Linked DNA regions of Homo sapiens: regions 1, 3, 4, 5, 6 and 7 are each linked to region 2. Evidence: promoter capture Hi-C in 16 types of primary human blood cells and fetal thymus (Javierre and others, 2016). All regions are on one chromosome and are shown on one strand. The core of a region is centred on a gene start or on the middle of the fragment in contact, and the rest is flanking DNA. Distances in the headings are between cores, read along the strand shown.

What was found. Contacts are between HindIII fragments. The CHiCAGO score rates a contact against its expected background, and 5 or more counts as called.
Region 1: a contact is called between a fragment that was not itself captured here and the fragment with the promoter of ETS1-AS1 in region 2, in 13 of 17 cell types (activated CD4 T cells, total CD8 T cells, total CD4 T cells and 10 more). The highest score is 35.7, in activated CD4 T cells.
Region 3: a fragment that was not itself captured here is called in contact with the fragment with the promoter of ETS1-AS1 in region 2 in 7 of 17 cell types (activated CD4 T cells, total CD8 T cells, total CD4 T cells and 4 more); the score reaches 11.7 in activated CD4 T cells.
Region 4: a contact is called between a fragment that was not itself captured here and the fragment with the promoter of ETS1-AS1 in region 2, in 6 of 17 cell types (naive CD8 T cells, total CD8 T cells, total CD4 T cells and 3 more). The highest score is 13.5, in naive CD8 T cells.
Region 5: a fragment that was not itself captured here is called in contact with the fragment with the promoter of ETS1-AS1 in region 2 in 4 of 17 cell types (total CD8 T cells, naive CD4 T cells, non-activated CD4 T cells and 1 more); the score reaches 6.3 in total CD8 T cells.
Region 6: a fragment that was not itself captured here is called in contact with the fragment with the promoter of ETS1-AS1 in region 2 in 6 of 17 cell types (naive CD8 T cells, total CD8 T cells, naive CD4 T cells and 3 more); the score reaches 12.6 in naive CD8 T cells.
Region 7: a fragment that was not itself captured here is called in contact with the fragment with the promoter of ETS1-AS1 in region 2 in 8 of 17 cell types (total CD8 T cells, naive CD8 T cells, activated CD4 T cells and 5 more); the score reaches 29.6 in total CD8 T cells.

Annotation. Positions count from the first base shown.
Region 1 is chr11:128,169,936-128,172,635 of GRCh38, reverse strand. The region is part of intron 4 of LINC02725 (long intergenic non-protein coding RNA 2725); the gene reads right to left. Among named protein-coding and RNA genes, the nearest start is that of LINC02098, 37 kb to the left of the region's middle. The HindIII fragment of the contact is 1,624 bases long and covers 634-2,257 here.
Region 2 is chr11:128,524,633-128,527,532 of GRCh38, reverse strand. ETS1-AS1 (ETS1 antisense RNA 1) reads right to left here and starts at 1,391. Exons shown (of 4, transcript NR_120581.1): 1 at 1,218-1,391; 2 at 115-1,000. The region is part of intron 3 of ETS1 (ETS proto-oncogene 1, transcription factor); the gene reads left to right. The HindIII fragment of the contact is 5,425 bases long and covers 1-1,792 here.
Region 3 is chr11:128,153,069-128,155,860 of GRCh38, reverse strand. The region is part of intron 2 of LINC02725 (long intergenic non-protein coding RNA 2725); the gene reads right to left. Among named protein-coding and RNA genes, the nearest start is that of LINC02098, 54 kb to the left of the region's middle. The HindIII fragment of the contact is 5,358 bases long and covers 1-2,792 here.
Region 4 is chr11:128,135,763-128,138,462 of GRCh38, reverse strand. All of the region lies in intron 2 of LINC02725 (long intergenic non-protein coding RNA 2725), which reads right to left. Among named protein-coding and RNA genes, the nearest start is that of LINC02725, 41 kb to the right of the region's middle. The HindIII fragment of the contact is 4,086 bases long and covers 1-2,700 here.
Region 5 is chr11:128,068,333-128,071,227 of GRCh38, reverse strand. No RefSeq gene overlaps it. Among named protein-coding and RNA genes, the nearest start is that of LINC02725, 26 kb to the left of the region's middle. The HindIII fragment of the contact is 3,058 bases long and covers 1-2,895 here.
Region 6 is chr11:128,087,182-128,090,150 of GRCh38, reverse strand. No RefSeq gene overlaps it. Among named protein-coding and RNA genes, the nearest start is that of LINC02725, 7.1 kb to the left of the region's middle. The HindIII fragment of the contact is 2,694 bases long and covers 92-2,785 here.
Region 7 is chr11:128,050,085-128,052,784 of GRCh38, reverse strand. LOC107984374 (a long non-coding RNA gene) reads left to right here. Exons shown (of 2, transcript XR_001748082.2): 2 at 1,079-1,202. Among named protein-coding and RNA genes, the nearest start is that of LINC02725, 44 kb to the left of the region's middle. The HindIII fragment of the contact is 3,278 bases long and covers 1-2,700 here.

The DNA of each region.
Region 1 (2,700 bases), core at 196-2,695, 350 kb after region 2:
CCTGAGTGCACAGAGATAAATTCTAAAAATAAAGCTAACTTCTATTTTTTTTTTTTTCCCCCTGGGGTAAGTGCTGAGCATATTTTCAGAGACTTGAGACTAAAGTGCAGCATCGGGCATTATTCTCAGTCTCACAGCGCCACCTTTTGGCCCATGTTCTCCCTTGTTTTCTGAAGGTGAAATCCAGGCAGCTGGTTCCTGGGGTGATTTTTACAATCCTACTTTCTTGGCTATGGCTTGACATAATTTCCCTGGAGAGTTCAGTCTTAGGGTATGATACTATACCTTGGATCTGCAAAGCATTAAAAGGGAGGATATTGTCAGATATATGATCTAGCCATGGACACAGGCCAGATGCATTCGTAACTGAAAGAGAAGGCCCTCTTGTCTGGTCCACTCCTAACTTGTTTGATTTTGCTGCTATCTATCAGCACCTTCCTTACTAATGCAGGATGGCTCAGTTAATTTCTTTCTTTGGTCTTCCAGTTATGCTGTTGAGAGCTTGCTCATGGCCATATATAAGAGGTGACAACAATGGCTTTTCAGAAACAATACCAAGAGAGCAATAGAAACACTTTATTTACCCACAGTGTAAAATGGGCTGCAACTAATTATTTACAGATGGGGCAAGCTTTGATAAATAGATTGACTGATTAATGATTTGGGTTATATTTCTGACATTAACTCAAACTGGACTTGGGCTTAGTTTCAAAATAAAATAAGCCTATCTAGACCAACCTGTTGGTGCGAACTTTAAAATGGCCAGAGACAATCAGATAGTGCTTTATTCCTAGGGGCTTATGGTTGGAAACCTTGAAGGAAAAATTAGCTGAATTATCTACAGTCAGGTTGAGTGCACGCCAAAGCCTTAGAATTCTAACTCTATTGTTTTGGCTGAGTTTCTACCTGCCCCTGCAGCTAGTCAATTCCATGGAAACATGACTCATACTGTTTGCCATCATGTAACAAAAATAAACAGTGGTAGTTCTCCTCTTTAGGTTTTTCAAGCACAAATTTTGGCTTGATTGAGGCTTAATCGAGGTTGACGACACTGTTAGAGCACTTCTTTCATTCTGACTTCTAAGAAGGAAATAGTGAAGAGAAGTTAGAAATAGACACTCTAATTTCTACATATATATATATATATATTTTTTTTTTTTTGAGACGGAGTCTCGCTGGGGCACCAGGTTGGAGTGCAGTGGCGCGATCTTGCCTCACTGCAAGCTCCGCCTCCTGGATTCAAGTGATTCTCCTGCCTCAGCATCCTGAGTAGCTGGGATTATAGGCACCCGCCACCACGCCCGGCTAATTTTTTGTATTTTTAGTAGAGACGGGGTTTCACCGTGTTAGCAAGGATCGTCTTGATCTCCTGACCTTGTGATCCGCCAGCCTCGGCCTCCCAAAGTGCTGGGATTATAGGTGTGAGCCACCGCGCCTGGCCCTAATCTCAATTTTTAGCTTGCATTTTAGTGGGCGCGTTAGGGAAGACATTTTGGTCAGAGCAGTCAATCTCTTCTACTTACAAAAGTCCTGTATATCCATCACCCCTCCATGCCAAATTTTATTTACTCCAAAAAGCCATTCTAATTTCTTCAACAGTGCCTTGTCCTCACTTTGAATCTCTTTAGTTCTTTTTCCTTATAAACATTTTCCTGGGCAAGAAGATGGAAATCTCCGCACCATGCCGGACTCTCCTTGCTGTTTTGCTCCTAGTAAGCTCTCAATAAGAGATTTTTAATGTAAAACTGTGCGAGTACTTAGTGGCAGAAGCACAAGCGCTCTTCCAAAACTGCAACAGCATAGCAATATGGTGCACATGTCTGTGAACATACAGCTACCACCCCATCGACAGCTTCTCTTTCTTTTGCTCAATTTCTTTTTTTTTTTTTTTTTTTTTTTTTGAGATGATGGAATCTCTCTCTGTCGCCCAGGCTGGAGTGCAGTGGCCCGATCTTGGCTTACTGCAAGCTCCGCCTCCTGGGTTCACGGCATTCTCCTGCCTCAGTCTTCCAAGTAGCTGGGACTACAGGTGCCCGCCACCACGTCCGACTAATTATTTGTATTTTTAGTAAAGACGGGGTTTCACCGTGTTAGCCAGGATGGTCTCGATCTCCTGACCTCGTGATCCGCCCGCCTCGGCCTCCCAAAGTGCTGGGATTACAGGCGTGAGTCACCATGCCCAGCCCTCAATTTCTATGCTGTAGCCAAAGCAGCTTTAAAACAAATTTGAACTTGTCACTTTCCTGCTTTCAAAGCTTCATGACTCTTTCTGGCCTCCTAGACTCCGAATTCCCTAGATGGGTCTACCAGGCTTGTACTGTCTGTCCCCAAACCCCCTCTGTAATCTCACTTTCCTCCATTCCCCCATGATTCACACTTCTGTCTACTTTGAATTTCTCTGTTGTTATCCCTTTCTGAACTACCTCTCCCTCCATTTTCTGCCTAGTAAACGTTTCTTCATTATATAAGACTCCCTATAAAAGTTCGCAAATTTCTTTAGGATTTTCCAAAGATCCAAGACAGAATAAGTTTCAACTTTCTCTGGGATTTTATATAGTTTTGCTCATTATTTTATTATAGCATCTACTGAGTCTTATATTAAAATTCTTCACCTATACTAAGTCATGTACTAGATCTAAGAGTCTTTAAGATAGGGATCTTACTGATTTGTTTTGGTCTTCAAGCTTAGTATATAATACA
Region 2 (2,900 bases), core at 142-2,641:
TGCATTCTGCATTTGCAGCAATTCCAGGCAACATGCTCAGCCTGCTTCAGGGAAGCACACAACACTGAGTGTGGATGAGACCTCAGAACCCTCTAACCTTGGGCAGCTCCTTACCTCTTCCTGTCTGAGCCATGTTTGATTTGCTGCAAGAGGAATACGTGTCTAAACTGCTGGATTTTAAAATGTCGCTTGGTCTGTGGATTAGGCCAATCCACCCCACATTGTTGGGGCTGCAGATGCAGTTGAATGGTTCATAATTATAGTCTAAAGAAACTGCAGACAGCAATAGAGCCAACCCAGGCCCTTTCTCTCCTGACAGCCCATGCCAAGCTGTCTCCCACAGGGAACCATAGTGTGGTTATCCTGCAATGTATTTGCCCAAAGACAATACATCCAGTGTAGAGAAGTTGGATTTCTAGAAATTGAGTCTGCTCATCTATCTACTCCCATGTCCATTGTATCCTGTCTTGTGTCTCAAGGGTGTCTGGTACTTCTCCTGCCAAAGTGAAATGCAAAGTAAATGCAAGGAGATGCCAGGGAGAGAACTGCTATCAGGGCATCTGGTTCTAGTACTGACACTGACTTTTTTAGATTGTGTGGCCCTGGAAATAATAATTTCCTCACTCACACTCATTTTTCACCTCTGGTAAATAGGAGTGCTGGACTTGGAGAGCACTGATAAACTCCCATTGAGCTCTAACATGTGACAAATCCAAGACCTAAGGTTTTGTCTCCAAAGAGGCACTACAAATGTGATCTTCTTTCAGAATTTAAACTGTCACTTTTCTGTGACTCAAAACAAATATAAATCTAGTTCTCTTCTCCAATCAGGTAGTTCTCGAATTTCTCAAGTGAGGCTGATGCTGGGCAGGTTGCCAGTTTAAGAACTGAGGAAGGGTCTTGAAGAGATTTTTAAATGAAATGTGGTGATAGTTGTTCTATCTCTCGCTGGAGATCGTTCAGGAAAATTGAGCATCCAAGCTATTCTGCAAAGAGATGGCTGTAGACAGACATTTAATGTGATTTCCCACATATTCTACCGTATACTAGATCTTAATAACAATAATCAAATACTAATTCTCACCTAGACACTGTGCTAAATTCTTTGCATACATTATCTCATTTAATCATTCAAATAGCCTTAAAAGGTGTGTGCTGCTATTATCCCTAGTTGAAACATGGAGGAACTGAGGTTCGGGATTGTTTAAATGACTTACCTGTGGCAATTCAGCTGGCTAGTTGGTAGAGTAAGAATTTGAACCTGAGTCTTATTCCAAAGCCCACACTACTATCCTCTTTGTTTTCTTATATTGAGCTTTCCAGGGCAAACAGGCTCCCAAGTCCTCCCCTCTCCCCCAACCCCACCCCACCCTCCCTTCTTCCCTCCTGACTGCAGCTCCTCCTACCCTCATTGTTTATTGTGCCTTCTAAACAATAGCCAATGAGTCTGTGTTCCATTCTAGGGAGAGCTAGGGCTGATTTTATTCCCTGAAACAGAGATGAGGTTGTGACACAAAAAGGTTAAGTGGCTTTGGTGAGGTCACAGAGCCAGCCTGCAGTCAGCAACAGTACCATCTGAGTCCCCTGGCTTGGGTCCCTTAACTGACCCTAAGGCTTTTTGGCATCCAAGTTTAATTAAGAGAGTTATTTTAATTTTCCTTCCTATCTCTAATTTTCCATTTTATTGCTGCTTGATAATGTAGATATTGAAGTGCCAGGCATTTTTCTTCCCTAGTGTGACTTTTAATGACTAAACTTCTCACATAGAAACCACTTGCCTTAGAAGTAAGCTTTCAAAGCTTGTTTCTGTGTATGACAGAGACTGTTGCCTTTTCTCAGAGAAAAATGAGACCACAAATGCAGCTCAGACAGGTTGTTGTTAATTGAGGGCTTTTTTTTTTTTTTTTTTTTTTCTAAATCTTACATTTATACCAGTAAATCAACATCTGTGAGTCATAAACTGGTTCTGGATCAGCCGTTAGTGGTCTGAATGTTTTTGTACCTACCTTCAGTAAAGCATATTTTAGCTCAAAACTCAGAGATTCTTTGTTTTGTTGAAGTTCAAGACTCAGGAGTAGATAACATGCTAGGACACTTCTGGAGAGGGAAAGTCTGTCTTCCATGATTGTTCAACATTAAGTGTATATTTATATTTCTTTTTTATTGAAGTTGGGGTGGAGTTGAGGGAGGAGTATAAATAAAAAAGAAAGTATGCTTTTTACATACTCCATGTGCTTGAGGAATTCCTGTATGAAGGTGACTATTTTCTTAATATTATTGTCTAGCTCCACTCTTCTGTTCCCCAACTCCTGCGGACTTTTCTTGGCCCTTATTGACTTCACGTTCCTAGTGTAAGGCAATTCAGCACTTGGTAGGATATAATTAGCCGAAGTCTAAGGAATGCTTAAAAATACAATTCTGTTTTTTCCCAAATGCAGGAGGAACAGACTGCTGCAGTACAAGCACAAGCACAGAAGTATTTATTTGATTGATTTTTTTTTTTCCTGAGTGCCTTAAAAACCAGATATGGTATTGAAGTATCTTGCCCAAGTGGATGAAAGGCAACGCTTGGCTGCTGTTGTTTGGCTGGTGGGGACACTGAGGCATACATGTAACCGAGTGGACGTGAGTGCTGGGGATAGAGGTTCTGCTCTACTATGAAGGGAAAAGGGCACAGCCTCTGACACTTTTTAGTTCATCTTCACAAGCCAGAGCATATCAAACTCACTTAATCATTGAATTAGGAAGCCCATAGTGACCAAAAAGTTGATAGTTCATCATTCAACACATATTTATTGAGCTCTGTAATGTCTTAGGCACTAGGCTAGGCATCAATGTTTTAGCGTATGATAACATAGAAATATCATTTAAAGTCCATATGAACATTTAGAAAAATCTAC
Region 3 (2,792 bases), core at 162-2,661, 370 kb after region 2:
AGGGTGATTTCACTCCATCTCAGTTTATATTCTGATGATTACGTTCTGGGCAACATCAATTTCTTCCTACTCACCTGCTGGAGGAGATAAACATCATGGCCTGACACATACTCTACCTTTTCAACCATGACTAATCTAAACAGAAACATTCACAAAAGTCCAACCACTTAAGAGGTGTTTGTTGAGGGCATATATTGGGATTTAAGGGTATACAAATATGTGTGCGATATAATCTCTGTTGACTGGTAATTTACACTCCATTTGGGTCAACACCAGTTCCTGAGAACTTAAGCAGTAGTAAAGAAAGGGACCACTATGCAAAGGGGGTTATAAAGGATGTTAATGATGACAACAAAGACCACAACAGGTTGAAAATACATGGATTTAGAGGAGGGTACCTGTGGGCTACAGGGTTTGAGAAGACTCCTAAAAGCATTCTGAGTTGGGTGTTGAAGGTTAGGTAGGAGTTGGCTGGCAAGAATAAAATCCAGTTGTAGGAGTTAATAGAAAAAACTAAAATGTCAGTTGCAAGAAATGCCATGCATGGAGATGAAAAGGTAACATTTCTGGAGCCAGTGGTTCAGACATACATGCTGATGGCTAAATGTGTCTGGGGAGCCTCACTCTTAACTCGATTGGTTTGCTGGTTAGCTGCAGAAATTTGCACTTATTCCTTACTGCCTCTCTTTTATTTATTGTTCTAATCACTGGGCATAATAGGAGCCAGGTCATCGGAGGATGGTGCTGTGACAGCATAATGGGCTCTGGCTTTGAAAATAACATCTCAGTTTCTCCAAGGCCCCTTCTTTGGCAGCAGGAGACCATTAGCTTGTCATTGTCCAGCCCTATTGACATTATCTTTTAATTGCCCCCAAAGACCCATCTCCGAGGCAACATGTGTCTGAGATTTTCGGAGCATTGGAGATTTTGGACTGACATCCCAATCCATTTTATCATTTAACTTCAGAAATTCTAAGGGGAGAAAATGATTAAAGAGTTTAAAAAACTAAGAAGAACATTATGGGAAGATGTACGGAAGGCTGTATTCATGACAACAATTAAAGCCAAAGTAAAGTGGCAAGGAAAGCAAGTTATTCTGCAAGAATTCTAGGAACAGATGTGCATGTCTATATGTAAAGACAAGTACACTGTGTTAAATAGAATATTCAAGACCAAAATCAAATGTCTGAACTGAGTATTTTTGTAATTTTGTATAGGGCATAATGAGAGAAGCGGATGTTGCCAAGTCCTGAGAATATTTGCTGTGCCCCCAACTTTTCCTCGGAGACAGATATCTATGTCTGGGTGGTCTTTTCTGTGGCTCCATTGTTTCTGTCAAGTGTCTAAAGTGTTATTATGCCCAGGAAGATGGCCAGCTGCTTTCTATGTACCCTATGGACAAAATAAAGTAAATAGGCTGAAACAGTGTGATGAGTGTAGGTGAGACATGAAAAAGCAGTTTTGGACCATGCAGCATTTGAAATCTAACAGTCAAAGAAAAGGGACATTTCACTTTGTTAACAGCTGGTGCTGGTCTGGGAAGGTGTAGGTGTAGTCTGGTTGGGACCCTTCCGGGGGTGTGTGAAGGCTGCAAGAGGGAGGGGATAGAGTTTCCGGGCAGTCTAGGCAGCGGTGGGATGCGCTGTCTCTGGATTAGTGACAGAAGGAATCGATGCTGCTGTCAGGGTCTCAAGTCCAGGATGGGAGATGGAATCCCATCCCATGGAGAGGGACTCAACGTCTTTGAAGGTCCTTTCTCTCTAGCTTCAGGCTTCATCACCTTAGCGGCTGTGAGCTTCCCCTGGAAGTCATTGGAAGGAAAATGGACTTTGCATAAATATGTCTTTGTCCATGTGCAGTCTTTGGGCGCACGTCAACAAGGGCAGCAAGGCAGCCATTTTGCAATATGCCCTCCTCCTTGCCTGGCTCTGCCCATGTTTCCAGCTCACAATAATATCCTGGCTGCCGGCCCCTGATGAAAGCCTCTCCGGGCCTTTCCTGCAGCCTGCCTTCTTTCCCTGTTGCCCCTCCTCTCTTTGACATTCCAGAATCCTCTCCTTCCTGTTATTGTCCTGCTCATTTCTGATAAGATTATGTTTGTCCCTATGAAGAGGAATTTTTCTTTCCTGTACATTAATGTTTTTCAAAGACACACTAATGAAAAAGATCTCTATCCTAATGCCAGATAATTTATACTAAGTGTTGAGGGATCTGAGAGAGGAATAGGAGGCCCCAAGAGATGGGGAACCCAGATTCTCCTTTAATCACTTGTGAAACACTTGACGGCCTATCACCAACCTTCTGATTCTGATTTCCAAATGCAGTTTTGTTTTGGCTACAGAGCAAGGAATTGTATTTTACAAGCTGGAGTTCACAGTTCAGCTGCACAGAAGGAGTCAGAAGATGTGAGTTCCAGCACTAACCCTGCATTTGCATTTATTTGCTTACAGAAGGTTTGTGGGCCATATCTAGCCTCGGTGCCCTCATTGTAAAATGGGGACATTATTACCTACCTACCTTAGGGTTCTTGTGAGGGTTAGTGAAATACCATATCAACCATGCTTCATAAACTGGAAATATAAATAAAAGGTAGTTTGATCACCTAAACATATATAAATTGTGACTCAAGATGAGTTGCATGAACTCTAGGAAATAGGCCCCATAAAGAGTGTTAGAAAGTTTAGGCGCTGTCTTCATCCTCATAGTCGGCTTCCAGCCTGTTTGAGCTCTGCCAAATGGAAAATGGACCAGAGTGATCATTTTATAGATGACAAAATTGAGACCCAGAAAGG
Region 4 (2,700 bases), core at 192-2,691, 390 kb after region 2:
AGTAGCTGGGACTACAGGCATCCACCACCACGCCCGGCTATTTTGTATTTTTAGTAGAGACGGGGTTTCACTGTGTTAGCCAGGATGGTCTCAATCTCCTGACCTTGTGATCCACCCACCTCGGCCTCCCAAAGTGCTGGGATTACAGGCGTGAGCCACCACGCCCGGCCATGAATTTCTTTACTATAGAATTTCTCCCATCATTTATGTTAATATTCAGTGCTAATCTCTGCGATAGGAAGTAGAGTGCTTTCTGTGTACCTGCTGAGGACTGTTTGTCAAATAATGACCACAAAAGGTGACCACAGAAAGAGCTAGTATTTCCAAGCATACACTTCAGTAAATTTAGCCCTATGTCTATTTGGAATGATTATTTGCTTATGTTTCTAGAGACATAGCAGAGATTTCCGACATCCTACAAATGCAATTCACAAGACATAGCTGTCGCAGAGCCACCAAGATGTCCTTGTTGGGCATGGAACAGGGCACTTCCTGGGCTCTCTGTCAGGCCTCAACTTATCAAGATAATTGTTGGGGTGAGAAAATCAGTTGAGCGACTACTGCCCTGGAGAGAGTTAGGGAAAGAAGGTGGTGAACCAAGAACAAGTCAAATAGAGCCATATAACTGAGGCCAAGTAGGCAGTGACTGAGTCAGCACTGATTTGCCCATTGCAGGGAGTACACAGGGGAAATCAGCTAATCAGAGCTTCCGGGCAACTCATTACCCTTTACAGTGGAAAGCATTTATAATGGAGGCTTCTTCCCTGACTTTAAATAAAGCGTGTCTTGGGAAAATTACTTTCTAAACTGGGCTGTAATGATCCAACTCCCTATTCAATAGATGACTGTGTCGTTTTAACTTCCACAGGTATTAGAATAGCACAATAATATTCGTGTGGGGAAGGCAAATTGTGCAGTCTATAGAGAGGTTAAATGAATGAAGTCAAAATTGTAGAAGTAATAAGGCAATGTGATTCAATAGGAAAATAACTATTATTTTATGAAAATGTATTGTCTGTAGAGATCTTCAAAGGGCTGGAAATGGTCCTGTTATTCCTATTCAGAAGAGAAACTTTAGATCAATAGTACTCTTTATGGCAAAGAAATTGGCCAGTAGAGGAAAGGGTATAGACATTAAAATAGGTTAGACTTGGGTTTTAAATTCCAATCCATTGATTGTCTTTTCCTTAGCATGGAGGCTAGGACCTGCGTCAAGTCATAAAAAGCCATAAATAGTTACAAGGCCTCAAATAACTTTCATCATGCTCTACCTTGATGCATACCTTGGTTCTTCAGCAATATGACTTGGAAACTTTGTTGTTCTCTCAAAGCCTCAATTCCTCCTCTGAAAAATTGGATTAGTCCTACTTAACTCATAGAGTTCAAAGGAGGTAAATTTTAAGTGTACATAAAGTGTCCAGCAAAATTCTCAAGCATACAATAAGTGACAAAAAAGCATTCACTGAGCGAGTTAGTGGCAGGCTAGGCACATTTTACCCTCTTTGGTAAATTACCAACCATCAATGCTGACATTTTCTTTAAAAGGCAATAAAAGGCCTCCATTATCAATCACTCATGTTCCAGGGAAAAGTTATTTAATCTGAGATGGCTGTATAACTTCAGGTAAGCTATTTAACAACTCTGTTCTTGGCCGGGTGCGGTGGTTCACGCCTGTAATCCCAGGACTTTAGGAGGCCAAGGTGGGCAGATCACGAGGTCAGGAGATTGAGACCATCCTGGCTAACACGGTGAAACCCCGTCTCTACTAAAAATACAAATATTAGCCGGGCGTGGTGGCGGGCCCCTGTAGTCCTAGCTACTCGGGAGGCTGAGGCAGGAGAATAGCGTGAACCCGGGAGGCAGAGCTTGCAGTGAGCCGAGATCGCGCCACTGCACTCCAGCCTGGGTGACAGAGCGAGACACCGTCTCAAAAAGAAAGAAAGAAACAAACAAACAAAAAAAATCTCTGTTCTTCTGTCATGTTTCTTTTGAAATAATTCCATCCCATCTTAGTACAAAATCGATTTGGAGTTAGGAGACCTGGAGAGGATACTCAGCTTCCTGAGACTTTAGGCCAAGTTCCTTAACATTTCTGAGTCTGTTTGCTTGTGCATAAAATGCCTATGATACTTGTCCAATTTATTTCATAGTTATGTAGTCAGGAGCAATTGAGATGAAGTATTTGGAAATCCTAAATTAACTTTGTAAAGCAGGCTATATCTCTAGGTTGATTTCAATGTTGTTTCTCCAGCATTGGAAGAAGAGAGTTCACAGGTCTCTACTGTTGGGGGTCCATTAGGGTGCAAAGACTTTGCTTGGGAATTAGGAGATCATGGTTTTCATTCTAACTGTATCTTCCTGTGCTATCTTAGACATTTAATTTTATCTCTTTGTTCTCCATTTAATAAAAAAATTGTTCCCCATATGACAAAAGAAATTCAGGGAGTAGAAGAAAAGAAGATTTGATCTCGACTCTCCATTCTAAAAGTCTAAGAATATTACAATCCTTCTTTTCTGTTGGCATTCTAAAAAATGGAGTCAACATTTGTAGGTCTAACTGGATTCAGTTGTTTATAGAGCGATACCTGCCAGAGGCATATAGTGTAGTTGGATAATCCTGCTGTATTTCTGTAAAATTACCTTTTTCTTTCAGAGGAAACAAAAGCACAGCTTGGTCTCTTTTTTTTGAAAGAACCTTTT
Region 5 (2,895 bases), core at 146-2,645, 460 kb after region 2:
TTTGATCAGATTTGTGGGCAAAGCTCAATACTTGAGTGGTATTTTCTTTCTTAGTGTTTGTCTCCAAAGTCTGTATTAATAGAAAATGAAGCAACAGACAACAATGCCTGGAAATGCAGGTGTCTCCATTTTAATAGGAGGCATCTGAGCAAAATCTCTGTGAAAGAACTGCCTGACTTGCTTCCAGGCCATTGTGAATATTTTGGTGGGAAAGCCTGCTTTGAATTAGGGACGGAAACATGCATATTCTTATATCCCCTCTCCTGACACCTGCCTAGGATTCACTGAGAGAGAATTACTAAGAAAGGAGTGATGGCCAAAGACCATGCAGGCTTTGTTGCTGTGGTAAAGTGGTCTTTTCTGTCTGCTCCAGATGTGGGCAAGAAAATACAAAGAAGTTTAAGAAGATTTAGTTTAAATAGAACTGGATTGATTCCAAAAGGCTTAATGTTTGCACAAGAGAATCCCAAATCAGATCTAAAACATAATCACTGCTTGAGTTCTTAGCCTTCCTATTAGCTATTAGATTCTGCTAATTATACTCTAAAGTGTGAGGAGTGTTTGCTTTGTTTCTTGAATCAAAGCACCAGTCTTTCCTAAAATGCATTGCCAACTTATAGCCATTTTCAAACTATTCAAGTGAGTCGATGGAATCTCTCTCCAGAGACAGTATTGCAAAGTGGTTGTGAACATAACCTTTGGGCTAGAAAGAGCTGAATTTGACTAAGAAATCTCTACTGACTTTGCGTAAATTATTGAACTCCCCATTGCCTCAAAAGTGAGGATGAGAAGTGTATCCTAAGAACTAAATGTTATAAGGGATAAAAAGTGCCTAGTATAGAGCCTGGTACATGTTGAAGTACTGTAGGATGATCATCATTATCTATGTGTTGTTGCTTAATTCTAGTAAATATATGATAAGTATTTGATATAGTACATACATGATCCATTCTGAATTGCTAGACTGATCCCTCAGCCAGGAAATGAAGGCATGAAGCCTTTATTTATTTATGTCTACTATAGTCAGTTACACAGCTAGAATTTTGTATCGCAAACCCCTTTGAAAATATAATTAAAGCCATTGATTCCCTTCCCCCCAAAGAAAAAATACAAGTTATAAAAACAGTACCAAGGTACAACAATGCTCTTAGCAGCACTATTCACAATAAGCAAAGGGTAGAAACAACCCAAATGTTCATTGCCAGATGCATGGATACATGAAATGTAAATATATACAATGGAATCAAAAATCATTCCATTAAAGGAAGGAAATTCTGACACATGCCACAACATTGATGAACCCAGAAGGCATTATGCTGCGTGAAACAACCAGACACCAGAAGACAAACACTGTATGGTTTCACTTACATAATGTACCTAGAGTAGTCAAATTCTTAGAGATAGAAGTAGAATGGCTGCCAAGAGCTAGGGCAGCAGGAAATTTGGGATTATTGTCTAATCAGTACAGAATTTCGTTTGAAATGCTAAAAATATCCTGGAGATGTATAATCATCATGATTCCATAATAATATGAATGGGCTAAATGCCACTGAGCTGTGTACTTAAAATGATAGAAATGGAAAATTTTATGTTAGGTGTATTTTTCCACATTAAAAAAAATAGTGCCAGAGATTTCTGGTTTAGGAAGTTTAGAAGAAGGCTTATGTTTTTTGATTTCGTTTTTTTAAATCAGCTTTATTGAGGTATTTTTACACACCATAAAATTTACCCGTTTTGAGAGAACAATTAGGTCAGTTTTAGTAAATTTATAGTTATACAATTATCCCATGATATGGTTTGGCTCTGTCCCCACCCAAATCTCATCTCGAATTCCCACGTGTTGTGGGAGGGACCTGGGTAATTGAATCATGGGTTCAGGTCTTTCCTGTGCTGTTCTCATGATAGTGAATAAGTCTCATGAGACCTGCTGATTATATAAGGGGGAGTTTCCCTGCACAAGCTCCCTTCTTTTGTCTGTCACCATGTGATAAGTGCCTTTCACCTTCTGCCATGATTGTGAGGCTTCCCCAGCCACGTGGAACTGTAAGTCCAATTAAACCTCTTTCTTTTGTAAATTGCCCAGTCTTGGGTATGTCTTTATCAGCAGCCTGAAAACAGACTAATACAGCAAATTGGTACCAGTAGGGTGGTGTGCTGCTGAAAAGATACCCAAAAATGTGGAAGCAACTTTGCAACTGGGTAACAGGCAGAGGTTGGAACAGTTTAGAGGGCTCGGAAGACAGAAAAATGTGGGAAAATTTGGAGCTACCTAGAGACTTGTTGAATGGCTTTGACCAAAATGCTGATAATGATATGGACAATGAAATCTAGGCTGAGGTTGTCTCAGATGGAGATGAGGAACTTGTTGGGAACTGGAGCAAAGGTGACTTATGTTTTAGCAAAGAGACTGTTGGCATTTTTCTCCTGCTCTAGAGATTTGTGGAACTTTGAACTTGAGAGAGATGATTTAGAGTATCTGGTGGAAGAAATTTCGAAACAACAAAGAACTCAAGAGGTGACTTGGGTGCTGTTAAAGACCTTCCGTTTTATAAGGGAAGCAGAGCATAAAAGTTCAAAAAATTGCATCCTGACAATGTGATAGAAAAGAAAACCCCATCTTATGAGGATAAATTCAAGCCAGTTGCAGAAATTTCCTTAAGTGACGAGAAGCCGAATGTTAATCACCAAGACAATGGGGAAAGTGTCTCCAGGGCATGTCAGAGGTCTTTACAGCAGCCCCTCCCATCATAGGCCCAGAGGCCTCAGAGAAAATGGCTTCATGGGCCAGGCCCAGAGTCCCTGTGCTGTGTGCAGCCCAGAGTCTTGGTGCCCTGTGTCCCAGCCACTCTAGCTATGGCTGAAATGGCCCAATGTAGAGCTTGGATTGTGGCTTCA
Region 6 (2,969 bases), core at 189-2,688, 440 kb after region 2:
TATGGCAAATACCTAAAAATATAAAAACGGCTTTGGAAACAGTTAATGGGTAGAAGGTGAAACTGTTTTGAAATTCATGCAGAAAAAAGCTTGTATTACCATGAGCAGAGCATTAAGAACAATTCTGACAAGGGCTCAGAAGAAGAGGAGAGATATAGGGAAAAACTTGCCTTTTTAGACATTATTTAAGTGGTCATGAAAAGAATGTTGGTAGAAATATGGAGAGTAAAGGCTATTCTGATGAGATCTTAGGTGGAAATGAGGAACAAGGTATTGGAAACTGGAGATACAACCATCCTTGTTAAAAAGGGGCAATGAGCTTGGTTGAATTATATGTGACCTAGGACCCTGTGGAAGGAAGAACTGAAGAGTGATTAACTAGTGTATTTGTCAGCAAAATATCTAAACAACAAAGCACTTAAGATGCTGCATGGCTTCTTTCAACTGCTTATAGTAAAAGGGAAGAAGGAATAAATAATTTAAAGATAAAATTTATAATTAAAAGAGAAGCAGATTGTAAAGATTTGGAAAATTAGCCTGGCCATGTAAAGAAAAAAAAATGTGTGCTTAGGAAAGGAAATCAAGGATGTAGACATGAGATCATTTTATAAAAAGATTAGTATAAATAGAAGAAAGCCATGTACTATTCATAACGAAAGTAGTAGAATGAACTTAAAGGCATTTGAAAGATCTTCCAGGCTGCCATGCGCATCACAGGCCCAGAGTTCCCTCACCTTGGGGTCAGAATAGTTTGGGGAGAGGTTCCTAGGGTGCTTGTGATACCTTAGCTCTCTGTTCTCTGTATTCCAGTGTATTACTTCTTGGCCACCCTAGCTGTGGTGCAGGTGGGCCTAGGTGTGACTTGAGATGTGACTTAAGGGCACATGCCTTAAACTTTGGCATCATCTATGTGGAATGCAGAGCACACAAGCTGTGGAAGTATGGCTGCCTCTACTTACACTTCAAAGAATATCTCAGACAGCCTTCCTGAGGCAGAGAACTATATAGCAGAGGTGGGGGCTCCAAATACAGTCCATGCTAGGACAATGTCCAGAAGAACTGTGGGGTCAGAACTATCCCCAAGGCCTGTTAACTATAGAGCCACCAACATGCAACTCCTGCCTGGGAGGACTGTAGACACCTAACTATCTCTGAGAGCTGTGGCATGGGCTGCAGTCAGTGAAGCTGTAGGGGAGGGGAGCATCCCCACCCATGTGTGTCCTCTTGGTGGGACATGGAGTTCAAAAAGACTATTCTCTAGCCTTATCATTTAATGTTGTTATCCCTGTTAGGTTTTAAACTTAGTTGGGACCTGCTACCTCTTCCTTCTTACCTATTTATTCCTTTTGGAACAGGAATGTCTATTCTATGCCTGTATCACCATTGTATTTAGAAGTACATAACTTGCTCATTTCACAGGCCCACAGTTTAAGAGAAATTTGCCTCTGGATGAATTGTTCCTTGAGTCTCACCCATTTCTGACTTACTTAGATGGAAATCTGGATTTTAGACTTTTGAGTTGATGTTGGAACAAGTACAGACTTTTGAGGCTATTTGGATAAAGTGAAGGTGCATTGCACGTGAGAAGGACATTAGTGGGGGAGGGCAGGGAAAGAATGCCATAGTATGAATGTGTCCCTTATAATTCAAAATTCATCTCTTGAAAAAACTCTCCAATGTAACAGTATTAAATAGTATGGCCTTTTGGGAGGTAGTTAAGTCATGAGTGCCACACCTTCATGAATAAATTAAAACTGTTATAAGAGGGCTTCGTGAAGGGAGTTCATTCCTTTTTGTCCCTCTGCTATTTAAAGACTCAGTTTTTCTCACCTCCAGAGGACACAGTAACAAGGTACCATCCTGAAAGCAGAGATAACAGCCCTCACTAGACACTAAGCATACTGGCATCTTGATTATGGACTTCTCAGGCTTCAGAACTATATTAAAAATTATGATTTTATAAATTATCCAGCCTCAGGCATTCCACTGTAGTAGCACAAAAAACCCCTAAGACACCCAACAACCAACAATTGGAAAATGAATTTTTAAACAGCAATTCTATTTACATCAGCATAAAAATTTAATACCAAAAAAAGTCCTTAAAACACATGCAAGAGGTGAAAAATAAAATAGTGCTGAGAGAAATAAAAGAAGACATATATAAGTGGATTGATATATCATGTTCATAGGTCAGAAGACAGTATTATCAAGAGGTACATAATGTAGAATGCACATATTGATTGATTTAACACCATTCTAATAAAAAATACTACTTTTTTTTTTAGATGGAGTGTTACCCAGGCTGGAGTGCCATGGTGTGATCTTGGCTCCCTGCAACCTCTGCCTCCTGAGTTCAAGTGATTCTAGCGCCTCAGCCTCCCAAGTAGCTAGGATTACAGGCACCCGCCACCAGACCCAGCTAATTTTTGTAGTTTTTAGTAGAGCCAATGGGGTTTCACCACGTTGGCCAGGCTGGTCTCAAACTCCTGACCTCAAATGATCTGCCCCCTTAGGCCTACCAAAGTGCTAGAATTACAGCCATGAAGCTCTGCACCCAGCCAATACTAGCATTTTGATAAGAAAACTTATAATTTATTTAGGAATTCAAAGCATATATAAGAACAGAATAATCTTGAAGGTCGAAAGAACAACTTTGAAGAACTTTATCTTATTTTCAATTCAATATAATGCCATAGTAACGAAGACACAGTTACTATTGGTAGTATTGGTGCAATATTACATAAATGGATCACTGGAATTGAATAAAGAGTCCAGAAATAAAGCTTCATATTTATATCTAATTGGTTTTCGACAAAGTTGTCAACTCAATAAAGAAAGAAAATTATTTTTACCATATTTTACGGAAGGACTGTATTTTCATTTGTAAAAATAAAAATTGTAATCCTGAACTCACTCCATATACAAAAGTCAATTTGAAATAGAGTGTAGTTCTAAATGTAAATGCCAGG
Region 7 (2,700 bases), core at 64-2,563, 470 kb after region 2:
CTGGGCAAAGAATGTTTTGAGTGAGGAAAATAAATGAAATAGCAATTGAAAACAGAAAAATCCAGTAATGATTTCTTTATTACCTGAAATACTTGAGATTTTTCAATGTTTTCACTCTCAACGTTTTCAACAATTTTCAGAACTAAAGGTATTTTAAAACTTGTATTAACTGTTGAAGGCTACTTGAGGATGCATAGGATTGAAGCACTGGTAGGTGTCTAGCTTAATAGCACATCTCAATAGCACATCTTGTATTTATATAATACAGCTTGAGGATTTCAACAGGTCTCTCAAAATGACCCCCTTCAGCAGCCCAGTCCACCTCCAAGTGCCCTCTTCTAAACAACTGAAAATAAGCAGGAAACAATTTCTTGTTATCGCTGGGAAAGAGATAGTTCTATTTCCCGAGTAATCGGTTTCCATGCATAAACAGCAAGAAAATATTCTTTTTGCCATTCTGAACCTAAATCACTCTTGCTGTAATTTATGATCATTTTCTCATATTCCATATTAAATAAAAGTGGAAAATAGCTCACTATTTCTTTTATTATAAGATTGTAGTTGACATCAGTAGATAATATCCATTCGACTGTATTCAGAGGAGTGGAAGGACAGGTGATTTTATCTAACATGGAACCATAGCCCCCAAATATGATGGAGCTGAGTAAAATCACTTGGTGGCCTGCCAGGAATGACACCACAGAAAATGTCATCAATGGTAATAGCAACAATAATATCTAGCTCCTCAACAGCATTTTATAATTTTGGAGAATATTTTCACATAAATCATCACATTTGATAGCCTTTTAAATTTTTATTTTAAAATGTATTTAACTTATTGAGAACTCTTACCTCACAATCATGCAAGCCACTTAAAATTTCCAGAAAGAAAACATAAATTTCCTATGAACTCAGCACTCTTCCCTGTTTGTCACTTTTGCTTTTGTTTCTCATGGATTTCATTCTTCTCTTCTCCAAAGTATTTCATCCTTATTTTGGTTCTTTCCTGTTCTCTTTTGCACACTCATCCGTCTGATTTCCAAGAACGTGATTCTCTTCTTTTATGTTTCCCCCCAAGGAAATGAAAGAAGAGTTTTGAAGAGACAGCTGCCCTCCATGCTCACGGCAGCATCATTCAAAACAGCTAAGATGAAGAAACAACTAAAAAAGTCTGTTGAGAAATGAATAAAGAAATACAATAATTTGTTTTTTTCTTCTTCCCACTTTCAACTTGTGAGACCCCATCACTGCCTTTTGGACTCTTGCTTCTTTTCTGATTCATGTTCCTGTTCACCATCACCTGCCCCACAGCACCCTCACAGGAAAAGAAAAAAAAAAGCCAAAACAAAACCGATCTCTTTGTTCACTGGATCAAAAGTCTTTTATTATAGTGCATTCAGACATTCAGAATACATATATGAGGCCTGCTATTCCTCACATGTTTGAGGGGAAGCAAGTAGTGTTTTTTACTTTTATTTTCTTTTGCCCTTGTTACTACCAAAACTACACACACACACACACACACACACACACACACACACACACCCTGTGTGCATGAATCTGCAGAAACTATTTTGTGAGTTCCTTTTACTATTTTACTGAGACATAGCATTAGTCTCACTTGTTGGTGGAAAATATTTGTATTTATCAAGGAACCTGACATCAGAAACCAGCTGGTCAATCTTACTTGCTTTCTAGTTGAGTCAACTCTATGTTGTTGAAAGGTCATAGGATTTGGGGAAAAAAAAGACAAAGATTTAGGCCAAAAAGACCTGTCACTCACTGGGACATGGATCAGACACTGAGTCCTCCCTGGGCACCAGTCATCTCTTCTGTGGAAGGGAAACCCTGCTTTCTGCACTGCCTCTCTCATGGTGATAAAAGGAATAATGGGATCGTGAATATAAATGCTTCATAAACTCTGAAGTTCTATAGGTTAAATTAAATAAGCTGGAGGCCACTAGCCTGAGTCTGTCTCCATACTTTGAGTTCCTACGTAGCAAAGTACAACCTAACTTAGCACTTAAACCTAACTTAGGAGTATAATAAACAGAAGTGTTTCAGCCAGTCACAGGCAGTCAACTCATCATACCGTACTCAAATAAGGCAGACATCTTAGCTGTGGCCAATAAAATGATTCTTCTACTTTACTTCTGTGTCTGCCAATAAAAGCTCGCTGCTCACTCTCCTAAAAAAAAAAAAAGCTCTCTGAACCTCTTCTGATTCTTAGAGTTGCCTGACGCCTGAATCATTTTTTGCTCATGTAAATTCTTTTAAATTTAATTTGCCTGAAGTTTTTCTTTTAACATATGCCTGAATATGATTCTTGATCATTTTTAAAGCCCCAAGTTTTAATTTGCAATGGTAGTATATCACAGTGGTCAGGAATATATAGACTTTGAAGGCAAAACGTCTGAGTTTATATCCAGGTTTTGCTGTTATAGTAGTGTGACCTTGCGCAAGTCATTACTTAACTTCTCTATGCCTCAGTTTTCTCATAATAATGGCACCTACATTAAAGGGTCATTATAATCCCATTACTAGTGGATATATGCAAAGTAGTTAGAAAAGTAGTAGGTACTTTATAAAGTCACCTGCTATTTTATTGTTGTTGTTAGTTTTTGTTATTTTATTTATTTTCATAATTTCATTTTTAACTTCTTTCTCTCCAAAGCACGAGCTAAAGATCTTTGTTGGCCT